3 separate regions of the Homo sapiens genome follow, and regions 2 and 3 are each linked to region 1. Evidence: promoter capture Hi-C in 16 types of primary human blood cells and fetal thymus (Javierre and others, 2016). All regions are on one chromosome and are shown on one strand. The core of a region is centred on a gene start or on the middle of the fragment in contact, and the rest is flanking DNA. Distances in the headings are between cores, read along the strand shown.

Region 1 (4,990 bases), core at 1,064-3,563:
AGCTGCTCTCCTGCCTCCCCCTGCAGTGGCCACCTACAATCCAATCTCCTCACAGTGATCGTTCTAAAAACACACACCAAATCATGCCATTTCCCTGCTTAAAACCCTCCAATGACGTTTCACTGGGCTTAGAATAAAGTATGAAAATTCCTCACCCCGGCTCACAAAGCTTTGCGGCATTTACCTTTCTCCTACCTGTGACCTCTCCTCATGCCACTTTCTCCCTTGTGCACCACATTCCAGCCTTCCTGCTCCTTAAACTCCAAGCTCTTTTCTGCCTTAAGCCCTTGCCCTGGCTGTTCGCTCTTCCCGAAATGCTTTGCCAACTCATCATCACATGATGTCTCCTTCTTGTCATTCAAATTTTACTTTAAATGTTGCCTATTCAGAAACACCATCCCGATCTCCCAGTACAACCAAGCCACCCAGTCACTCCATGTCACATCACCTTATTTTAACTTTCTGCACAGTAGTAACCACGATCTGATATTATTATTTGTGTTTTTTACTTATTTTCTACTCCCTTCCCTCTCCTATTAGATTGCAAGCTCCATGAGCACCTAGAACTTTTCTGTTTTTTGTTCCCAATGCCTAGAACAACGTGTGAACGTGTGGCACACAGGAAAATTGTAATAACATCAACTGATGCAGTTATGAGCCAGAGAGGCCCACTGACAGCAAGACTCTGATGGCCCCAGCCAACTCCCCAACTTCACATACACACATATGAGGCAGGGCAATAGAACCGCAGCAAGGCCCTAGTCCTTAGGTCTGTAAATCTCACCCATCAGTATTTTCAACTATTATGCAAGAACCCAAACCAGAAAAGGAGGTTCCGGGGTTTTCTTGAAATAGGCTGCTTTATTCCTAACAGTAGTAGTTCTGACTCACAGTCGCCGAGGTACACCCAGTCAGTACTAGTCAGACCACCGTCCAGACCTTTGGCGAGCTGATTCATTCAGTGAACAAACATTTACCGAGTGCCTACTTGCTGTCCGGCACTGGGGCAAGGGGTCAAAGGCAGTGTCTGGCCTCCCGGAGCTCAGCAGGCAGAGGGAAACACGCTGCAACACAGACTCCCGCCGGAGTGGGAAAGCAAAGCCTGTACTGGCATAGGAGCCTGACCCGCGCCTTCACTTACTGCGCCCCAATCTGACATGGACTGATCCTACAGACCCAGGGTAACCTGGCTGGTGCGCCAACACTCCGGGGCTTTTGCGGAAAAGTCGCCCGTGGACTAACGGAAGCACCAGCAATCCCCCGGTTCAGCTCCGGCCGAAGAGACGCGGAGCGCTCGAGGAAAGTCATTGGTTGACCAGTTCCCTTCCCCACCCCCTCCCTCCCCGCAGGCCCGCGCAGTGGATGGAGGCCGGGGGCGAGGTTCCGACTCTCCAAGACCATCCCAGAGCCTGCGGCGGGAGAGGGGGCGTCCTCCTAAGCGAGATTCCCCTAGTCTCTCCCTCTCCCCACTCCAACCCCGCAGGCCCACACCAGGACAGAACTTCTCGTTCTACTCCTCCCACCCGAGCCCATCCAGGTCCCGGCACTCGCCTCTCCCGGCGGGGCGCAGCCCCAGACCCTAGAGGGGAGGCGTGCCCAGCCCGCACACCAGCACCCGAATCCAGCCGGATTGCAAGGTCCAGGGCGCAGAGTCTGCGGCCTCTTCCCCCCCGGCCCAGGTCCCCAGCGTAGGTGCGGCCCCCACCGCCTTCCTCTCGGAGGCCGCCAAACAACTTGGGCACACAAAACGTTGAGTGTGGCCGCGGCGCAGCGCGCGCCAACGAGCCCGGGCCGGCGGGAGCAGAGGAAGGGCGGGGCGCCCGGCGGGAACGGGGAGGGACCCCCCCCCCGCGGCACAGGTGCGAGCGCGGCGGCCCCACTCACTCACTCGATGAAGTAGCTGGCGCCCTCCTCCGTGAAGCCCTCCTCCCAGCCGCGGGGCAGGTCTGCGGAAACGCCAGAAAAGTCGGGTCAAACTTGGGCCGCCGCTGCGCGCGCCCCCCACCCGCCGGCCCGGCGCCCACCTGAGCGGATCATGTGGCCCGAGTTGACGGGCTCCCCGGTGCGCGGATGCAGCCAGGTCGTGCAGCGGAGCTGGTCACTGCGGGCAGAGAGGTGCACCTGTTAGCGCCGCCACAGCCCGCCGGGTGCCCGCCCGGCCCCCGCCCCCGCGCCCCCACCCGCGTCCCCGCGTCCCCGGGTCCTCGCGCCGCACTTGATGAAGAAGACGCGGCCATCCCGGCACACCCCGTAGGACCAATGCTCAGGTAAAGTGTCCCGCCCGACCGTCGCCGCCGCCATGTTCGCCGAGCGCGGAGCCGCCGCGGGGTGGGGGGGAGGGGGCGGGGGCGCGGGCAGGGGCGGAGGCGGGGGCGGTGGCGGGGGCTCGGCCTGCGCGTGGCCCGGCGGCGCCGCGAGGCGCTCCATCCAGGCGCGGGCTCCTGAGGGAGCGACCGCCCGGCCGGGTCCTGGCGCCCGGAGTTCGCAGCCGCTCCGGCCAACCCAGCGCAGTGCCCGCGGCCTTTGTCCCCGAGCCTTCCCCGCCCCCAGCCTGCTGGCACCGGCGCTCCCCTTTGCCCCCGAGGCCGGGAGACCCGGGCGGCGCGGGGGGCCGCTGGCGGGGGCCGCTGGCGGGCGCGCCTGGGCAGCTTCGGGGCGCGCGGTTGGACCCGACCAACTCCGAAAACGGCGAGCGCCCGAACGCTCAGTAAACCCCAGCCGACCCGCACCACAGAACTTCCCGACCCGGGAACTCCGCTTGTGTGTGAACCAAGTTAACACTCAGGTTCCTGCCATATTCCCAGCCTCCTTCTCTTCCCCTGTAAGGTTAATCGAGTCCACACGGGATTGTTGTGTAGATTAAATGAAGTAACAATCGCATAAAGTGCTTAACCGGACCATGGCATGTAGTAGGTGCTCTATCAACGGCAGGCCGAGCGCGATTTCATTTTCCCAAGTTTTCAGCTGGGATGTGAAACAGGAGGGAGCAGGGTTACCGCCACACACCACTGAGGTTGCAGGGATCGCAAGCTCTTGCCTTCAGTTTCTGTCAAGTAACAGAAAAAAGGGGTTTTGAGGGCTCGGCAGCACGTCCATCTCTGGAAGAGCGGTGGCCAGGCGGGGCCTCTAGGGGGCCCTGCAAAGCTCTTTGCAGTGGCGGCACCCTCTCATATTCGGGTCTTTACTCCTATCTTATCTCCTCGGGGAGCCCTCCCTGAGCCCTCTGCAAAGAAAATCCTTCCCCTCCTTCCCTCGCTATTTCATTACTTGTTTACATTTAATTGATATTTGTGTTTGTCTTGTTTGTTGTATATTAGTTCCAACATGTCAGCTGGATGAGAGAAGGGGCTTTGATCTACCTCATACACTGCCTGGTCTCCAATGCCTGGAACAGCACCTGACTCATGTATGCATTACGCATTCAATAACTGTAGGATGGGGTGGGGCACGGTGGCTCAGGCCTGTAATCCCAGCACTCTTGGAGGCCGAGGCGGGTGAATCACTTGAGGTCAGGAGTTCTATTCCAGCCTGGCCAACATGGTGAAACCCCGTCTCTACCAAAAAAATACAAAAGCTAGCCGGGCGTGGTGGCGGGCGCCTGTAATCCCAGCTACTCAGGAGGCTGAGGCGGGAAAATCGCTTGAACCAGGGAGGCAGAGGTTGCAGTGAGCCGAGATCGCGCCGCTGCCCTGCAACCTGTGCAACAGCGAGACTCAGTCTAAAAAAAAAAACTGCAGGATGAGTGAATGAAACATACTCCACACTCAGACTCCCGGCCACACACACACACACACACACACACACACACTGAGCAAAGACAGAGCAGCAGCTGGGCTCCAGCTGTTGTCAGGCCCAGCCTTCTCGGGACATAGGCTCTGATTGATGGGAGGAGGCGCGCCTGAAAGTGAGACTGTATGCAATGTGAGCACTAGTTATTCAGAAAGGTGCCCAAACAGGTGGAATTAGGCTGGACCCTGAAGGACTGGTTAGGTTTGACTGGGAAAAGAGCACTCCAGAGGGGAGGGATGGGAGAGCATGCACATAATTTTGGGAGGGCTGTGAGATGTTGATGAGACCATAAAGGGGCCCTTCCTTGGGAACAGACAGTGGTGTTGGGGAAGGAGGCATTTATGAGTTAGAAGAGGTAACTGGTTGCAGAGGACGGGGGACACCTGTCTGAAGGAACCTCCTGCCTCTGAGGAGGTTGTTGAGCAAATGAAAATAGGAAAGCGGTGTTTTGCTAGCTAAACATTGATTTTAAATAATACATTAAATGGGCAAAGGGTATGAACCCACAGTTAATAGAAAAGTAATACAGATAACTTTTAAGCAAATGAAAAGATACTGAGCCACTTCATAATAGAAGAACTGCAACTTACGGTGAAATACTATTTTTTTAGATGTCAGATTGGAAAAGATAAATTAGAAAAGATATTGGCCAGGCGTGGTGGCTCACGCCTGTAATCCCAGCACTTTGGGAGGCTGAGGCGGGTGGATCGCTTGAGATCAGCAATTCGAGACCAGCCTGGCCAACATGGTGAAACCTTGTCTCTACTAAAAACACAAAAATTAACTGGGCATGGTGGTGCATGCCTGTAATCCCAGCTACTTGGGAGGCTGAGGCAGGAGAATCACTTGAACCCTAGAGGTGGAGGTTTCAGTGAGCAGAGATCACGCCACTGCACTCCAGCCTGGGTGACAGAGTGAAACTCTGTCTCATAAAAGAAAGAAAGAAAAGATATTGTAGAGAAAGACATTCTTGTTCATTGTTGATGGGACTTTAAAATGTTTGAGCCTCTTCGAAGGCAATTTGGCACAGCTATTCCAACCTCAATGTCTTGACCTAGCAATTTCATGTCAGGAATTTATCCTACATTAGTGCTTACATGGGGCACAAATTCCAGTGTACTAGAGTATTCACTGCAGCATTGTCAGTAATTACAAAGAACTGGAAATAACCTTAATGTCTATCAAAAAAGACCTGGTTGAT
Region 2 (4,990 bases), core at 1,048-3,547, 230 kb before region 1:
TGTCATGAAGTCGATACTGGCAGCATATGGAGTTAGTTAAAAATAGACAACAACTGCTAGATATATTCAAAATTCTATTTTTTTTTCTGAGCATAGTCAAAGAGAAATTTTCATTTAAAGTGTGGCTCCACCCAATGGAGGTTTTCGTTGTTGTTGTTTTTTCCATTTAAACGTCATTGTTTATATGCAGAATAATATAAGAAAACAACTTAAATAAAGGGCCACAAACACTGCACCTGGCTTGGTAGCCCCCCTCCTCATGTGGGGCTGGAAGTCAAATCAAAGTCCTGCCATTATGGCCCTGCTGGCGGCAGGCCATGAGGGATGGTGGGGGCACACTGCTGCCCTCCTGCCACCAGACCTGAGTCCCAGGGAAGCCAATCCGGGGTTCTCCAAGGGCAGGCAGCAAAGGTTCCCATCATGGCCTGGTTAGAGGGAAGGGATTTCTAGGTAGATGTCACCCAGTGTGGAGTTTATTGCTACGATACAATGAAAGTTGCTTCCTCTCACCTTTTCTGTATTTCAATGTGTACTGTTAAAAATGAAAGCAGGCTGGGCGTGGTGGCTCACGGCTGTAATCCCAACACTTTGGGATGCTGAAGCGGATGAATCACCTGAGGTCAGGAGTTCGAGACCAACCTCACCAACATGAAGAAACCCCCGTCTCTACTAAAAATACAAAATTAGCCGGGCGTGGTGGCACATGCCTGTAATCCTAGCTACTTGGGAGGCTGAGGCAGGAGAATCACTTGAACCCAGGAGGCAGAGGTTGCAGTGAACCGAGATCGTGCCATTGCACTCCAGCCTGGGCAACAAGAGTGAAACTCCATCTCAAAAAAAAAAAAAGATAGCAAACTGCTTTTTTCTTTCTGACAAGAGCCTTTTGCTGGAGGAAGCCTGGGGGCAGGTTGTGGGCCCCAGTCCTCTTGAACACACTGTTGCCCCTAAGCCAAACCCAAGGGGCAAGGCACAGACTTGGGCTCCACGTGTGATCCTCGTGGAGTTTCACACAGAGCTGGTCATCAGGTCAGGGACAGCTGATCTCTGCAGCCAAGGGCCCCTCTTCTCCCAGACAGCACGCCAACCAGCCTCTTGCTGGAGTCTACTGGGAACACCTCTTTAAATCTCACTTTCTCCTGAGGTCATTGGAAGTTGGACTAGCCTCGGCTTGCCCCGCCCTTCCTGCCCCCACAACACCTGTCACCCAGAAGTACCTGAATCTGTACGTGCAGCTGCAAAGTCCTGCATCCTCAACCTTCCTGCCACTCAGCCCTTGAGGGGAACATTAGAAAATAGATTCCGATTCTAAAATACAGTGTATTTTACAGTGTATATCAAAAGTGCCTTTGCCATTCATATGTAGAGAGGAGTCTGAGCTAAACTAGTGGGTGCATATTAGGGCCTGGCCTGTGGTGAACACCCGCAGTCGGTAAGCTGCTCCTTCCTCCGGCCGGATTCCCTGCTCAGCTGGAAGGGGTTTCCTTGGGGGCAGAAAGGTCATCTCCTTGGAGGAAGCTGGTTCCACTGGGCCCCTGGCTCCAGGCTTCTTTGCATGCTGGGTCACGGGTCAGTCACTGCCTGGGCTGGCAAAAAGCACAGGAGACAGTGAGAGGCTGGCATCCAGGGAGCAGGCACGTCTGCACACACATGATGGAATGGCAGATAGGCGGACAGGCAGAGCAGCAGAGCAGGGGGCTCTGGCAATGCGGCCGCTGCTGGGGGACCCTCAGCTTCCAGGACACATGGGGCTCTTGCCCCACCCTCCCTGCACCCCTATTCCACTGCTAGACACATGCTGGCCCCTAAATTGGGTCCCCATCCCGACAGGGCAAAGACTCTAATAAAGGTGCAGTCTGGCCCTGCCCTTCATTCTTTCAATGTGGGTAGCGCTCTTGGCCTCTGTGGGCCTTGTTTTTCTAACCTAAAAAACATGGTGGTCATACCCACTTCTTAACAAGGATGCTTTGAGAGTAAGAAGAAATGCAGTACTCCAAAGAGTATAATAGGCCAATCTTACAGCCATGGGGGCACCAAAACCCAGGAGGAACAGAACCTCTCTCCTGCCTCTCTGTGACTGAGCGCTGTTACTGTGCTCAGATCTCTAGGAGAAAGCCACACCCTCAAATGTGGCCTTCACAATGGGCGTGGCTAGAGCACTTCCCTATGGCTCCTCAACCACGGGGCCTCTACTCCACACCTCCTCAGAGCCTGGCCCAAGGAGGCTGACCTCTTCCTCTCATGCTCAGGCTGGCGGGGACCTGCTGACTCTGCTGTGAGGCACGGGGAGCACCCAGGATAGACACCTGCCAAAAAATCATGCTTCGCTCCCTGCAGCACAAATACTCTCTCCCTCCTTTCACTTCTTTCTCCAAACACCTAGAGCTGCTCGGGGCGGCCCAGATGAACCCATGAGTGGTGATGGGGAACAAAGGCTCTGAACTCACATCAAAGGGGTTCAAACCCCAGCACTTAACAAGCTGCGATTCCTTGCGCATATCCCTCAAGGCCTCTGAGCTTTTGTTTTTTCATCTCTAAAACGGGGAGGGGGGGGGGAATATCTTCATAGGGTTGTTGTGTGGATCGAAAGAGATACTTAGCACAATGCCTGGCACACAGCAGGCACTCAACAATGTTAACCACAAGTATACGTAAAGGAAGGAGAGGGGAAAGCCCTGCAAAATGATAGTGGGATGGGATGTCAGGGTAAGGACTGCCCAGACTGGTAGTCTGACCTTCCCCTGTCCAGGTGAACCGCTGGGCTCAAAAGCAACAGGCCCAGGCCAAGAACTCACTTGAGACTGGACCAGATGCCAGCCTCCTGTTTCAGGGCTCCCTCCTCATCCCACACTGCCTCTCATCACTAGATGCCCACATGGGGAGAACTTGGTAGGGTTGGTGCCAGAGCTTTCTGCCTGGCTGAGGGCCAATTTCACATTGCCCTGGGCTTCCCTTTCTCTCCCTCTTAAAGTGCCCAGTGACCAAAAGGGCAGTCCCAGTCTCTGCGCTGACACCAATTCTTTGTGACCTGGAGTGAGCCCCAGCCCCTCACTGGGCCTCAGTTTCCTCATCTGTAGAACTGGACTTTTCCCAATCTTACAGTTCTTCAATTTCTTTGGCCAAAGCCCTGAAAGGCCAAGATCTAACTCTTCCTTTCCAGCCCCCCAAGGCTGGCAGTGTGGTCTGCACTGGTTCTCGGGCATCAGGGTGCCCTACTGAGGAGAGCAGGGGATGGGGGCACAGTTCCGGTTCTAGAGATTTCATGGAGGCAGCAGGGTGGATTGCTCAGTCCCTATCGTATTAGAGCCACTGAGGATTGAGTTCCTAAAAAGCATCACTTTCCCACCTGCCTACCAGTCAGAACAGTCCCGCCAGCGGCCGCTTTGCCAGTGGAAGGAGGCATCAGCAGGTGGCACTGCAATCACCTCAGCACAGCAGGGAGGTGAGGGGCTCAGCGCTAGGGAGGTGCAGGAAGCAGGCAGAAGCACACCAGACAGGGGCTCTTACTTGGAAGGTGTTAGACAAAGGTGTAGTGGAGTCCGTTGGTAAAAGGGGGGTAAGGTGGCACCGTCCTGGAAGACAGGGGGCCTTTAGGCGGGAGGAGGGCCAGCTGCTGTGCTAGATGGGGCACACAGGAATTAAGCGGTGTGTTAGACTCCTCATCAGCTCCTGCAGCACCAGATGCCCCATTTGGCAGGCTGGGGTGGCATGGGCCCTGCTGCCCACCACGAAGGGCCTGGGCTTGAGGGTGAGGGACAGATCCACGGGGCCTGGTGGGGAACCGGATGGGTCAGGCTGCAGTTCCTGGATATGTTTCTGAGATGGAGAGAGGCATCAAGAGTGAGGAAAGGCCGCAGCAAAGATCATCCCTGAGTAGGGAGGAAGAAAGGCCCTGGGAACTGGCCGCAGCATGTTAGGGCTGGGAGCGCTCATCTGCTGGCAATAAGGAGGCCGAGGATGGCAGACCCCCTCAGGGTTAGAGCAAGCAAGGCGAGAGGAGGGCATGGTATGGTGGGGGAGCCGCCCCTGCTCGAACCCTCCCCAGGAGAAGCTCAAAAGCTGCTAAGATGAACCCCTGGGTCATGAGAAGGAGAGGTCTGGATGAGCCATCTCCTGCATCCCTAATCCCAGAACACCACACCGGCCACCTCTCAGCCCATTCAGCATGTGCTCGAAGGGACAGAGGACAGCCAAGATTTCAAGGACTCTGTGCAGGATCAGGCTGTGGGGGACAGAGAACAGGTTTTGACTAAGACTATGGCCCCTCCCCTTGTTGCCAGTCACTCTCATGGCCCTCTGGGGCCACAGCAAAGCTCTGATCTCCAGACAAGACTCCCCAGGCCCAGGCATCTGAGGACCCTGCCGGCCACATCCTTGGCTACTTCTAGACACTTTGGCCAGGGTTGGAGAATTGGTAGGGGCCATGACACCACTTCAGGCTCTATGGCTGTTCCCTCCCCAGAAGAAGCACACCTGGCCAGGAGCACCACCCAGACACACAGTGGCCTCTGCACTGGGGGAGAAATGGTACTGGGTGAATTGTGAAGGCACAAGGCACACACAAGCAGGTGAGCTGTGAGTGGAAGGAGGAGCCTGCGGTCTCCTTCCTGGCTGAGAGAAAGAGCAGCCCTTTTATACACAGACACACACACATACACACAGTCACACACACACAGACACACAGACACACATACACACACACATAGACACACATTGAGACACACGGACACACACACACCCACACACACACGTTCTCATCCCATGGTGTTATTTTTTTCCAATTGGACTGCAAAGTCCCACTTTCCAAGTCCTGTACTTTCTGGCACAGTACACTGTGATGAGGTGAACACTGGCTTTAGTTTAGAGACGAAGGCAGGGGGCCAGGGAAGGCAGGAGGGGCCCCCTTCTGCCTTGCCCCAGCAAGAAATCCAAGCATCAACCACTTTCCTGCCCCCTTCTTCATGAGGTCAGAAACCTTGGCCCCTTGGCTCAG
Region 3 (4,990 bases), core at 1,228-3,727, 200 kb before region 1:
CAAAAACATAAGGCCTTTGGGTACACAGTGGTAGAGCACCATTTTAAGAGAGGATGTGGGGCAAGGTGATGAAGGGCTTTAGGGTGAGAGCCGCACCCAAATACTGACACCCGCTAGCTGCTGTGTAGGCTTGGGAAACTCATTAGCCTTTCGGAGTCACGGTCCATTAAAAGATGATACCACCACTTCCCTTACAGGGCCACTTTGGAGGTAAAATAACTTAATAGAAGTAAAATGCAGTGACTGGCACACATTATAACCCCCTATTGTTATTAAGCTTCTGTTGGAGTCGACACTCAGGGACTCTTAGTTCTGCTGTGCCATTCTGTGGCTCAGTTTCTCCCTCTTTAATCCCGCATAGCTCAAATTCTATGATCTTGAAATAAAACAAACCTGAGGCCAAGCATCACTCCAGGACCAACTGTGAGTTTCCACTGTCACATACAAACAGGAACCAGAAGGCAGCTATTTCTCACTGCTCTTGCTCAGGTGCATTTAGTTCCCTCTGGCCCCGTGCACTAAACACTCTGGTATACCTGTGTTTTATACTCACCTGTGCTGCTGGCATGCCAGGCCTCTCCCATAGGCCCAGGTGCACTATGGATGCTCTACAGGTATGTCTGAGTGGACTGTTGGGCCCTGGGTCAGGGGTGACAAGAACTATGCAGGCAGCTGCTGACTGGCTGTCAGGGAGGCTGAGGAACGGGGATATGGTGCTGCGCAGGGCAGGTGGAGGCTGGGGGCTGCTGGATCTCTCTCCATAGGCATGGTGGGAACAACCCTGTCTGTCCCCACAGGCTGCAGGAGGATGGGCTGGGCTGCCACATTTGGTCCATACAGCTATGCTTGAGCATTTTGAATCCTGAGGAATTACCACCATACTTAGAGCAGTCACTCAAGCTCTGTGTGACCTGACTGTCAAGTGAGTTAGACAGTCCTGGCCTTGAGAGAAAGCTCCTTGTTCTCCTCACATGCTAAAGCCAGGTCTTTTTGCTCATAGCATCCACCTTCCTTCCTAAAGCCTAGGATAGAGTCAACAGCCTGCATGACCTAGTGCCACCTCCCCTCTGCTGCCCTGGCCACAACCACTGTGCCCTGGCTCTCCTTGGCTCTCACTGATCCTTCCCTTTAAATCTCAACCAGCCCCAGCACCCCTGGCTCTTCAAAGCTTCAAACACATGCCACCTCCTCCCAGAAGCCTCTCCAGTGTTGTAACCCACAGAGATTCTCACCATCTCAGCTCTGAGAACCAGGCCAAACAGATCTTTGTCTAGTCATTGTAGAGGAGTCTGTTATTTGGGGATAATTTCTTTCACCAACCCAAGACTATCTGGAAGTATCTCAAGACCAGACAGACTCAAATTTTTTTCTGCATCTCCCCATGTCATCTGGGTAACACAGCAAGTGTTCAACAGACACAGAATTGCACTGGTTGATTTCTAATCAAAAGCCCTGATCTCCTTTCATTGTGGGGAGACCCCCTTTCCATCTTCTTCCTTAGGACCTGATGTTCATACACCTGCTTCTATGAGGCTGGATGAAGATCCCCAAGTTAAAAATATCCCAAGCCAGGTACACTGGAGACTGTAGGGAGGCACGCCACCCCTCGTGGCAGTCACCTGAGTGTCCCATGGCCCCTCACCCACCTTTTCAGACCCACAGCTGACTAAAGGTCACATTCCTCCAGTCTATTTCATGGCTCAGGCGTAAGAAGTGCTTTTCACAGTAGGAGCTTTCAGAGGACTGTGGGCAGGGAACAATAGGCCTCTCTTCCAGGCAGAATGCCTCCTGCCTTCTCTACAGGAGCTTTCTTGGCTCTCTCTGTGCTGAGAAAGCTAATTTAGAGCCTGAAGCCTTATCACCTACAGGGAGGGGCCCAGCCTTCACCTCCTAAACCGAGATGGGAGACTACCGGTGAGCCTCAAAGCCATGCGATTCCATGTGGAGCCTGCTCCCCTAGCAACAGAACCAAAGAACCCACCACACCACTTGTGGCTGAAAACCCACATTAGTGAACCAAACATACACCCCTGCCCCCACTGGAGACTCCGAAGAAGCGACTGGTTGCTTTTGGAGGGACCTTTTTGTTCTGACCAAGAGAAGGAAGAGATCAAGGTCTCAAGCCCTCATTCTGTAAGCCAGGGACCTCACAACAAAATTCACAAGAAACTGAAAAAAGGCAGAGTTTTAGTCTGTAAGAAATAAAGTTCTTCTGATTCAAGATGGGAGACATATTGATTTAGAATTCAGATTGGATAAGACCTGTCTGGCCTTTGGCTTTGGGCTTGGCTCCAGTGAGGTGACACTCTCAGAAAGGTGAGTATGCAAGGAAGGCAGGAACCCTGATGTCACTTACCTTTAGATCCAGGTACTCCAGGTCTTTCTTCAGCTGGAGGTAGGTATCATCAGCCTTCAAATGAAGCAGAGAGGAAAAAACACAGTTATGAACACCAAGAGTTTCCATAACTCGAGGTTTCACATGTGAATTATTTACATCGTGCAGCTTTGGGAACAAGGAACCACAGCAGACCAACACATCAGGGGCCACAGAGGAAGCACAAATGTCTCGGTGCAGCTGAGAGCCGTCTTTCAGCAGGGCGGATCTTGCAGGTCACTGTGGGGAAAGTCAGCTTGTCCCCCACTGGCTAGGGGAAGAGTTTGGCAGGGAGGATCCTACCCCAGGGCTAGGGTAGCTGAGGCAGTGCTGTGCTCCCAAGATAGACCTGGGAGGTCCACCTGGAGGAGCATATGCCACACCTGAGCTAGAGCGCATCAGTCATCATCACTCCAATTCCATCCATCAAACCTTTGGTCTGGATCACTTCACATGCATGAAGATGAAGCTCACTGGTGTGGGTGGATGCCTTGAAGAGGCAGGGAGATGGCCTGGGTGACCCAGGAGGTCCCAATACGACCTTGGTTTCCAGAATGATAACCACCAGCAACTGCTGGAAATTTCCTGCAAGTTTGGTTCTTTTTGCTCACCATGGAGCCAATGTAGCCATGTCAGGAGCTACCTGAGGCAGGTGCAAGGTCAGACCTATCTGCTTGTGGCATCTCTGACAATCTATCAAGTTCTTCAGTATAATTACCAGAAACAGTGAAAATAAGAAAAAGACTCTTTGATTTCCCAAAACTCATGCTTTCCCGTGTAGCAGATCACAGAAGCTAACTGTGAGGCAGAGGAGCTGTGAAAGCTGTGAAAGAAAAATAATCCAGGCACCATCTTCTCAGCAGACTAAGAGGGTCACAGCCAAGCAAGCTAGGGCCGAGGCAGGTGGCCTTTGCTTACAGCTCTGAGGTAAGACAGTCACACAGACAAACCACACGAAGAGTTGAGGCAGGGCTCTTATGCATGGGAATGCCTGAAGGACAACTGTCAGGGGCACTAGTGGCTTGCAAGGTCTTGTGTCCCTAAACTAACTTCTTACCCATCTATACTTCCCAAACAGCTCAGTCCCTACACACTTGCCATAGGAGTAAGACAGAACAGAAGAAGGTTATTCAAGATCACTTAGATTCACAACTGATGATAGTTTTTCACTGACATTCATTTTTCTGAATACATTTCCTAAATCTCTCAAAACTCACTAAAACAGAACAAGGAAGGAAGGTAACAGTCCTGTCACCTTCCTCATCTGTCCCCTGCCTACCTCTGTACAGCCTGGAGGACCAGCCTCGTTGGCTGAACCTATTTTTGCCTGAGGACAACCCCAGGGAGGGATCCTTTTCTTTAATCCTTCTGCTCAAGATACCCGGGAGGGCAGCCCCCTAGCCAGTCCTTGAGAAGCTTGCCTGCAAAGCCCAACGTTCTTGCAACAGTTTAGAACATTGTGTCATGCAGGCCTTGGATTTTGGCTGCAGCCTGCATGCTTCTAGCTGAGGGATCCTGAGCAAGTCACTTCCCCTTCTGGTTCCACTTGCCTTGTGTGTGATCCTTACTCCTCTCCTACCTAACCTCTTCCAGCTTACTGTGAGGTTCAGCAAGATATGAGATGAGAAGACACTCTGTGAGGCAGCAGGGCACCATCCAGATAAGAGAGGGCGCCCTGCATCTCCCTCCAGGCTGACGCATATGTGCCTTTCCACATCCCAAGCAGTGGCCACGGGGGCAACAAGGCTGTCAGCCAGCACAGCCCTTTGAACATGACCATACACCAGCCTGGCAGTCACTACTTACAGCCAGAGAAGCGACAGTTTAGGGCCCCTACACCACATGCAGCCCCCCTCCCCAGTGCCAGAAGGGTAGGCTCAGCTTCCACCACCACAGAGTGTCTGGCAGTAGCATCCAGAAGCAAACAGGCAGCGAACACGCGAGAGCCAGAAAGCACAGACAGACCAGAGCATGGGCACGAGCGAACGCGAGCCAGCATGTCACTCCCTGCCCCCGGCCCTGAGAGGAGCCCACCAGTGCTGACCTGGCAGGTGGGAAAGGTCAGCTGGTGCTGCAGTAACTGGCTGATGGCGAAATTTCGCACACTGGCCAACTTGGCCTGGTGCCGCCTTAACCGGGTGAGAAGCAACGAGAGCTCCTCCAGCTGCAGATGTGTAGACACAGCACAAGGAAGTTAGCACCGCAGGAGCACACTGCTAGAATTACGCTCTTCACCCCGGTGTCAGTGCCAGGACAGCACTGATGTGACACCGTTAAGCAATTACTGTGTCAATTCTGTCATTAGGACAAATAAAGGCACTGGCAGTAAAAGGGCTTCAGGAAGTTTTTTTCAGGAAAGCAACAACCAACAGTGCAACCTCACCCAGACTCAAGCTTTTTTTTTCTTCTGCTTTGAGACAGTCTTGCTTTGTCACCCAGGCTGGAGTGCAGCAGCGTGATCTCGGCTCACTGCAAACTCCACCTCCTGAGTTCTCGTATCTCAGCCTTCCGAATAGCTGGGATCACAGGAGTGTACCACCACACCCAGATAGTTTTTGTATTTTTAGTAGAGACGGGGTTTCGCCATGTTTGCTAGGCTGGTCTTGAACTCCTGGC

What was found. Contacts are between HindIII fragments. The CHiCAGO score rates a contact against its expected background, and 5 or more counts as called.
Region 2: a contact is called between a fragment that was not itself captured here and the fragment with the promoter of PLEKHA7 in region 1, in 2 of 17 cell types (erythroblasts and megakaryocytes). The highest score is 5.9, in erythroblasts.
Region 3: a contact is called between a fragment that was not itself captured here and the fragment with the promoter of PLEKHA7 in region 1, in 1 of 17 cell types (megakaryocytes). The highest score is 5.1, in megakaryocytes.

Annotation. Positions count from the first base shown.
Region 1 is chr11:17,012,101-17,017,090 of GRCh38, forward strand. PLEKHA7 (pleckstrin homology domain containing A7) reads right to left here and starts at 2,314. Exons shown (of 27, transcript NM_001329630.2): 1 at 2,216-2,314; 2 at 2,025-2,101; 3 at 1,889-1,946. The coding sequence starts at 2,301. RefSeq lists an enhancer at 76-837 and a silencer at 722-1,016. The HindIII fragment of the contact is 14,877 bases long and covers 168-4,990 here.
Region 2 is chr11:16,777,438-16,782,427 of GRCh38, forward strand. It overlaps PLEKHA7 (pleckstrin homology domain containing A7), which reads right to left. Exons shown (of 27, transcript NM_001329630.2): 27 at 1-1,583. The coding sequence ends at 1,561. Among named protein-coding and RNA genes, the nearest start is that of C11orf58, 41 kb to the left of the region's middle. RefSeq lists enhancers at 1,313-2,036, 2,037-2,759, 3,155-3,849, 3,850-4,543, 4,864-4,990. The HindIII fragment of the contact is 9,770 bases long and covers 1-4,990 here.
Region 3 is chr11:16,810,757-16,815,746 of GRCh38, forward strand. PLEKHA7 (pleckstrin homology domain containing A7) reads right to left here. Exons shown (of 27, transcript NM_001329630.2): 13 at 2,357-2,410. Among named protein-coding and RNA genes, the nearest start is that of C11orf58, 75 kb to the left of the region's middle. RefSeq lists an enhancer at 4,302-4,802. The HindIII fragment of the contact is 2,622 bases long and covers 1,167-3,788 here.